Regions from separate parts of the Homo sapiens genome. Here region 2 is linked to region 1. Evidence: promoter capture Hi-C in 16 types of primary human blood cells and fetal thymus (Javierre and others, 2016). All regions are on one chromosome and are shown on one strand. The core of a region is centred on a gene start or on the middle of the fragment in contact, and the rest is flanking DNA. Distances in the headings are between cores, read along the strand shown. Region 1 holds the start of DHRS7B (dehydrogenase/reductase 7B). Region 2 has its middle 20 kb from the start of KCNJ12.

The links. The method cuts DNA at HindIII sites, captures the fragments that hold promoters and counts their contacts. A CHiCAGO score of 5 or more calls a contact.
Region 2: a contact is called between a fragment that was not itself captured here and the fragment with the promoter of DHRS7B in region 1, in 1 of 17 cell types (neutrophils). The highest score is 7.4, in neutrophils.

What each region holds. Positions count from the first base shown.
Region 1 is chr17:21,124,786-21,129,101 of GRCh38, reverse strand. DHRS7B (dehydrogenase/reductase 7B) reads right to left here and starts at 2,138. Exons shown (of 7, transcript NM_015510.5): 1 at 2,111-2,138. The coding sequence starts at 2,130. RefSeq lists an enhancer at 1,817-2,476. The HindIII fragment of the contact is 14,531 bases long and covers 1-4,316 here.
Region 2 is chr17:21,353,738-21,358,053 of GRCh38, reverse strand. No RefSeq gene overlaps it. Among named protein-coding and RNA genes, the nearest start is that of KCNJ12, 20 kb to the left of the region's middle. RefSeq lists enhancers at 1-223, 224-794. The HindIII fragment of the contact is 8,001 bases long and covers 1-4,316 here.

The sequences.
Region 1 (4,316 bases), core at 889-3,388:
TTATCTGTTTTGATCATCATTGTATCCACAACACCCAGCACAATGCTGGTACACTGTAAACGTTCAATAAGTATCTGAAGGAATGAATGAAATTTGTAGCTAAGCGCTAGGTTCTGGAGTGACATGGCATTGGATCGGCCTTTACTAGCTCTATGCCTTTGTTGTTGTTTGTTGTTGTTGTTGTTGTTGTTTGAGACAGGGTGTCACTTTTTTTTTTTTTTTTTTTTTAAGACGGAGTCTCCTCGCTCTTGTCGCCCAGGCTGGAATGCAGTGGCGGCATCTCGGCTCACTGCAACCTCTGCCTCCCAGGTTCAAGCGATTCTCCTGCCAAAGCCTCCCGAGTAGCTGGGATTACAGGCGCCCACCACCACGCCCGGCTAATTTTTGTTTGTTTGTTTGTTTTGAGACAGAGTCTCACTATGTCGCCCAGGCTGGAGTGCAGCGGCGGGATCTCGGCTCACTGCAAGCTCCGCCATCCGGAGCACGCCATTCTCCTGCCTCAGCCTCCCTAGTAGCTGGGACTACAGACGCCCGCCACCAAGCCCAGCCAATTTTTTTGAATTTTTTTAGTAGAGACGGGGTTTCACCGTGTTAGCCAGGATGGTCTCGAGGTCCTGACCTCGTGATCCGCCCGCCTTGGCCTCCCAAAGTGCTGGAAATACAGGCGTGAGCCACCGCGCCCAGCCAATTTTTGTATTTTTTAGTAGAGACGGGGTTTCACCACGTTGGCCAGGCTGGTCTCGAACTCCTGACCTCAGGTGATCCGCCCGCCTCAGCCTCCTAAAGTGCTGGGATTACATGTGTGAGCCACTGCGCCCAGCCAAGACAGGGTCTCACTTTGTCACCCAGACTTGAATGCAATGGCGTGATCTCGGCTCACTGCAGCCTGTCTCCCAGGTTCAAGCAATCCACTTGCCTCAGCCCCAACAAATAGCTGGGACTACAGGCGTGTGCTACCTTGCCTGGCTAATAGCTCTATGCCTTTGGATAAACTTCTTAACATCTCTAAGCCCATTTCTCCCTCCATAAATAAAAATTATAGTTCCTATGATTAGGGTTATTACAGGATTGAATAATTCAGTAAAGGGATTAGTACAGTGCCTGTAACATAGCAAACACTCAAAAAATATCAACTATTATTAAGGAATGGAGAAAAGGGGACATGTACATGGTAGGGAAGGCATATTCCACACCCTTGGCAAAGGCACAAACATAGCTTCCATTATGCAAACACACCGTTGCAATCGGCAACAGTGTAAGCAAGAATTCTGCTTACTAAATGTATGAGTGTGTGAAACCCAAACGTTACTTCAAAAGTAACTTCACGATTCTCCAATCACTACATGGAAGGTTTGGAAACTGAAAAAAAGAGCATTATGTGGCTACCATTTGTTGAATACCTACTATGTGCCAGACACCAGCTGAGCACCTTGCACGCGCAGTCTCATTTACGCTTCACAACAACCTTATGAGTGGGCTTGTTACTCCCAAAGTTACAGCTGAAGAAACACTCAGAGTTTAAAACATTTGCCCAAAGCCGCACAGCCAGGAAGCCGCAGAGTAAGTATTGGAAGAGCAAGATATCTCAACCAGCCATTCCCGTGGACGCTCGAGTCAGCACCCTCCTCCTGCCTTCTGAAAAACCGGACTTCCTTTGCTAGTCCTAACTCGCCGTCACTGGCTAAGGTGCCACTGGCCCCCAGCGCTCAACCCTCGGTCCTGCCACTCGCAGACGCTGCGGAGCCTCCCCTACGTCGCGCAGAAATGTGGGAATAAACAGGTTGAAGCCAGGAGCCCTGTGGGCGCGAGGCCTTTCACACACAGCGCCCGGCGCGACACCCATTCCCAGCAGCGGAAACTGGACTCAAGACACCTCGGCGACAGGCGGGTTTCCCCGCCACGCACTCGCCGGAGCCAGGGCTCTGGTCCCAGCGCCTGGGCTGAGTCTTCCTTCAGAGTTCGGCGTCGCGGGGATCCGGAAGCCGCCCAGGGCCCGCGGCCTTAGCTCGACCACTACACCGCTTCCCCTCACCCAAGCCGGGGCGTCGCCTCAGCTCAAGGCCAGACCCTATCGCCTCATCTCGGAGGTTCCTTCTTCCCCAGCCCCTACCTGGTAGCCGGAGAGACCATAGTCAATCAACTTCATCCTCCCGCCTCGGAAGTGACGTGTACGCAGCCGGCGAGGCTCCGTCCAATCCCAGCATTGAGGCTGCGCATGCGCGTTGGGTGGGCGTCCCTCAAGGTGTACACAGGACCCGATGGACCCGAGATCTGATAGGGTCCACCCGCATAACTACAGTGCCTTCATCTTCCGGAGGGAAATTCCGAAGGTCGTGGTTGGTGTTCCGTGGACTTCCGGCGAAGAACACAGTTGGAGAATTCACGATACAGTTATCAAGATGATTATAATGCCACAGTAATCAGAACAGTGTGATAACTGGCACAAAGGTAAAAACAATGAATGAAAAAGAGAGAGACCAGAAACAGACCTGCAGCTATGTAGTCACTTTTTCCTCCTACAAGTAGCCACTGTAATGCAATAAGAAGAGTTTTTTCAATATATAGTGCTAGGTCAATTGAAGGTCGATTGGGGGGAAATGAACCTTGACTCCTATCTCAAGTAAAATAATTCTAGACGGATGGTAGACCTGAATGTGAACAATACAACTCTAGACAATAAAATCGCAGAATATTATGACCATAAGAGAGGAAAATAACGTGTTAGCAGAACACAAAAAGTGCCAGTCCTAAAGGAAAAAGCTGATAAATTGGGTGTCTGTAACTATAAGACACCGAAAAGACCCCATTGAGAAAAGGGAAAGACAATAGAACAGACAAGATATTTGTAATACATATATCTGAAAATGAATTTTATTCAGAATATGTACGTACTTCTTGCAAGTAAATTTTTTAAAGGACCCGAAGTGATTTAAAAAAAAAAAAAAAGCATGAAAAGAGGATATTGAGAGAGTAAAGGGCAGAGGAAGGAAGGGGCAGGGCAGAGGAAGGAAGGGGCGGGGGGACTCTTATCGTTCAAAATCATAAGATGGCAAATGTGTGTAAGGTGGAAAATCTCCCTTTCTGTTCTCCAGGACCCACTTCACCTCCCCCTAGGTAACGATGCTATTAGCTATGTGTGTCCTTCCAGAGCCAGTTTATTCATAACCAAGCAATTATGTATGTATTCAGCACCCCCTTGTTACACAAACAATAGCATTCTGAAACGTCCTTCTGTTTCTTGCTTTTATTAACTTTAGCGAATTAATATATCCTGGAAATTCTTACAGATATTCACAAAATCTGAAAATGGGAAATTTTATTTTTAACTAAATATTTATTTTTGACGTTTTCACAAAAGTTTTTATACCTTTCTGGCCCCTCTCCATTGTTCTGGAAACTCTAGATTCCTGCTTGCCAATTCACAAAGTTTGAATATCCTTGTAGCAAACCCAATATGAACCGTAAGGCAGAAAAATAGGGTCTGGAGACAGGGAACCTAAGGCCAATTCACGCTGACTTCCTAGAACTAAATCAAAAGGAAAACCCGAACTTTCCATGCCCAGGTAACAAAAGGAACAGAAGCTAGTCCCTTTGCAACCTGCCCCGCTTTTCTGCCTGGCAGATGAAAAATTGAAGGTACCTCTGATTGGTCCCCTCTTGCAACCAATCAGGCTGATCACAGGCCACTACTTCTTTTACATAGAGTGTACACCAAGTAACCAACGGGAACCCTCTAGAGGGTATTTAAACTCCAGAAAATTCTGTAACCGGGCTCTTGAGCCACCTGCTAGGCAGGCTCCCAACCTGTGGAGTGTGCTTTTGTTTTCAATAAATCTCTGCTTTTGTTGCATCATTCTTTCCTTGCTTTGTTTGTGCGTTTTGTCCAATTGTTTGTTCAAAACGCCAAGAACCTGGACACTCTCCACTGGTAACACCTGAGTCTTTATTGCATGACTAAGTCAGTTTCCTGGGGTTCATTTCCCAGGCCTGCTACCCTCTTAGCCTACCCACTCTTCAATCCTGCATGGAATTTGTTTTAGAAGCAACTCAATATATTTCAAAGTTTTGGTAACCAATTTGAATTGCATCTGCCAAATGCAAGTGTAAAAACTCTAACTTCGCAGCCAGGATATTATACAAAAAGGATTCCAGTGGGCCGGGTGCAGTGGCTCACACCTGTAATCCAGCATTTTGGAAGGCTGAGGCAGGCGGATCACCTGAGGTCGGGAGTTTGAGATCAGCCTGGCCAACATGGGGAAACCCCATCTACTAAAAATACAAAAAAATCAGCCAGGCATGGTGTCGTTTACCTGTAG
Region 2 (4,316 bases), core at 934-3,433, 230 kb before region 1:
CTTTGTCCTCCCCAGCTCTGCAAGGGTCAGCTGCAGCCCTGCCCAGGCTGACCGGAACTTGACACGTTGACCTCGGAGGGGGCCTCTGAGGCCTGCAGGGGTTGGTGAAGGGGCAGAAGCTCTGCCGTGAAGGGCAGGTCCTGAATGGAGCCAGAGTGGGGACTGGGAAGGAGGGGCAGGGCTAATGGGCTGCTAATGGCCCTGCAGCTGGGCTCTGGTGACCCCTGGCTCCCTAGGGGCCAGAAACAGTGCTAATGGGGCTGCCCCTCCCACAGCAGGCCCTTCCCTTCTGTTCCAGATCGGCTAGGCTGTTAAGGGGTAAGTGGCAGGAGAGAGGGAAGAGTGATCAGCCCCCTCCATTATCCCCACCACCTTGGCCCTCAAGGCAGCTCAGTGAGCCCAGAAACCAGCCTAGAATGTGGGGGAGGACATCGGCACTCCATCCCCTCATTACAGGCGGGGAGCTGAGGCTGGTGCATTAATCTGGTCCTGTTCACCTTTTCCCCTCTTGTTCCCAAGTTCATGGTTCACTTCTCCTCTCTGGACTCAAGCCCATAGGCACAGGCCGCAGCTGGCAGGGAAAGCCAGGGAGGGCACAGTAGGCACAGTGCCCAGGGCCCACACAACTTCCAGGATCCGTGGTGGGAGCAGTGAGAGGAGAGACAAAATAGTTTCAGGGCCTTGAAAGCCAGCTAAGTCTGAAGTTTGGATTTGTATCTGTGAGCAATGGGAAGTGAAGAGAGGGCTTATGATGGGAAGGTCGGGATCAGATGCTAGAGAAATCTCCAGAGAAAAGAGATGACTGCAGAGGCTGATATAGTAAATAATGGAGAATGGAAACAGAGGGAATATGAGTAGATGGATGAGTGGGCAGACGGGTGAGTATATTTACAGGGAAACAGACAATTGAATGGGGTGAGCAGGAGTGCTAAGAGGGATGTAAAGATGGATGGATGGATGAGTGGATGGGTGGGTGTATAGATAGATGGATGAATTGATGGATGAATGGATGGGTGGGGGATTGGTGAGAAGGTGCATGGTTGAGTGGATGGGTAGATGAATGGTGGGTGGATGAATGAATGGATAGATAGATGAATGGATAAGTGGATGGGTGGGTGGGTAAGATGGATGGATGTGTGAGTGAGTGGACAGATAGATGAATGGGTGAATGGATGGGTGGGTGGGTAGATGGATAAATTGATGGATGAATAAATGAGTGGGTGAATGGATGGATTGGTGAATTGGTGAAAGGGTGGGTGGATGAATGAATGGGTGGATGCATGGGTGGGTAAGTGGCTGGATGAATGGATGAATGGATGGATGAATGGATGGATGGATGAATGGATGAATGGATGGATGGATGGATGAATGGAGGGATGGATGGATGGATAAGTGGGTGAGTGGGTAAATGAATAAATGGAACGTAGCTGAATAGATGGATGGATGGATGGATGGGTGGGTGGTTGGCGAGGTGAGTGAATGGAGTCAAAGGGATAGATAGATGGGCAGGGCATGAATGGGTGAGTGGATGACTAACGGAAAGATGGACAGGGGATGAATGGGTGAGTGGATGACTAACGAATTATATTTCTCTCTATTCCAGTGAAGACGTAGAATATATTTTTAGTGTTTTTGTTTTGTTTTGTTTTGTTGTGTTTTGTTTGAGATGGAGTCTCACTCTGCCGCCCAGGCTGGAGTGCAGTGGCGCAATCTCAGCTCACTGCAAGCTCCGCCCCCTGGGTTCACACCATTCTCCTGCCTCAGCCTCCCGAGTAGCTGGGACTACAGGTGCCCGCCACCACGCCCGGCTAATTTTTTGTATTTAGTGTTTTTATTTTTTATGGATAAATGGACTCATTTAGGCCAAAGTGCCCTGGGTGCTTGAAAGTCATAATGTGGCCCTGGGGAAGGCCTAGCTGCCCTCACCTGATGGCTGGTTAAGGCCCTTTGTTCTCCTCCCTCCCTCCAGCCTTCCTCAGCCTCCAGGAGGTCTCAATTTCCCCACCTCCAGGCTTTTGCCCAGGCTGTTTCTTCTGCCTTGGATACTCTTGTCAAAACTCTTCTCCCCCAGGAAGCCCTCTGGAGCTGGCTTAGGGTCTGGTCTGGATTCCCGCAGATGCTTGGTCTTCTGTTTGAAACAGCCTCTACCCAGACTGTGAGCCCGGGGAGCGGGAGACGTGGGTGGGCAGGGGTGTGGGGGAGGTGGCAGTGGTGGGGAGCCATCATCTCTCCACACAGGCAGGAGCCCTGAGAAAAGGAAAGGACGGCCTGTTACGGCCGTTTCCCAGATCCCGTCCACGTGTCAGGTCCCTCATTACCGCCTCTCACCATCCCGCTTTCCAGATGAGGACCAGCCCCAGGTCAGTAAATGGCTAGACCCTTATTCAGCAAGAGTGGCCTGAGGCTCTGGAGGGGTGGGAGGGGCCGAGGGGAAAGGCTCCTGGAGATGGAGCCCAGGACCCAGCAGCAGCAACAGGAATAATAAGGCTATTACCATAAGGGAAGTGCAGCAGCCATTGCAGCTCGTCCCTTCCCTGCTCTGTGACCTTGGAGCACAATCTTAACTTTCCTGAGCCTCAATTTTGTCATCTGAAAAATAAGGTCAGTTATCACCCAACCAGGGGTCAAGAGGGATAATAGTGAAGGACATGCAGGTCCTCGTGGCAACATCCATGACTGCGGTTGTCATGCCTCCCAAGCTGGCTTCTTGGCTCCCCTCAAATCCTGCCGGCAAGGTCAGTCTCACCACATGCCTCACAGTGGCCTCAGGTAGGCACAGGGCCTGGAAGTGGGACCTGTCTGTGGTGGGCGCAAGCACCGGCATTGGTGATGGGGGTTGAGGGTGGTGGGAATTGACAGCTGGGCCGGCTGGGGAAGGGAAAGAACTGGGAAACCAGGCCAGACACTGCAGCATTAACGCAAGGGCAACAGGACACGGCCATAACTTCACCAAATGCCCGCGAGGGGCCCTGGGCTCGGCTTGGGGGTGGGAATCCACTGTGAGAAGAGGAACCACAGTCTCGCTGGAGGTGTTGGAGGCAGGGCTGGAAAGATGGGAGCCAACTTCCATTCATTCATTCATTCATTCATTCATTCCTTTGCTGAACACCTGCTCTGGGCCAGTCCCCGATCTGGGCATTGGAGACATAACAGGGCACAAAAGAGACAAAAGCCCCTGTTCTTGTGCAGCTGATCTTCTTGTGCAGGAGACAGACAACAAAAATGGAGATGCGTAAACTTCAGAGGAGGCAGTTTCAGGCAGAGGTCAAGGTATGAAGGTCAGGGTAGCAGGGTGGCGAATGAGGCGTGAGCGGCTACTTAGCCAGGGAGGTCAGTGAGGGCCTCTCCAAAGAGGGATGTTTGACAGGAGACGTGAAAACTGGTGCAGAGATGGAAAAAGAGTGTTCCATTCTGAGTGGGGGTGGTCAGCAGGCACAAGGCTTGGAGGCAGGACAGAGCATGGCCACTCACACAGAGAGCCCAGAGAAACAGAGCGCTGGCCCCGAGTCAGGGAGAGGCTAAGCCAGATCACGGGACCCTGAGAGCCACAGCACAAGACTTGAACTTTATATTTTTGTTCTATGGGGAACAGCTGGAAGGTTTTAAGCAGGGGCAAGATGGTCTCTCTGATGGGTTTATTTTTGTTGTTGTTTTGTTTGTTTGTTTGTTTTTGAGATGGAGTCTCGCTCTGTCGCCAGGCTGGAGTGCAGTGGTGCAATCTTGGCTCACTGCAGCCTCTGCCTACCGAGTTCAAGCGATTCTTCTGCCTCAGCCTCCCAAGTAGCTGGGACTACAGGCGTGTGCCACCACAACCAGCTAATTTTTGTATTTTCAGTAGAGACAGGGTTTCACCATATTGGCTAGGCTGATCTCGAACTCCAGACCTTGTGATCTGCCCACCTCAGCCTCCCAAAGTGCTGGGATTACAGGCGTGAGCCACCGTGCCGGGCAGGTTTATTTTTTTTAATTAAGGTACTATTTACATAATGTAAAATTAACCATTTCAAAGTGAACAGGCCAGGTGCAGTGGCTCATGCCTATAATCTCAGTACTTCAGGAGGCCGAGGCAGGAGGATTGCTTGAAGCCAGGAGTTCGGGACCAGCCTAAGCAACATAACAATATTCTGTCTCTATTTTTAAAATGTATTTTTTAAAATGAATCATTTAGTGGAATTTATTATACTCATAATGTTGTGCAACCACCACCTTTATCTAGTTCCAACACATTTTCATCACCGCAACAGAAAACCCTGTCCCCATTTCCCCTCCCTTCAGCCCCTGGCAACCACCAATCTGCTTTCTGTCTCTGTGAATTT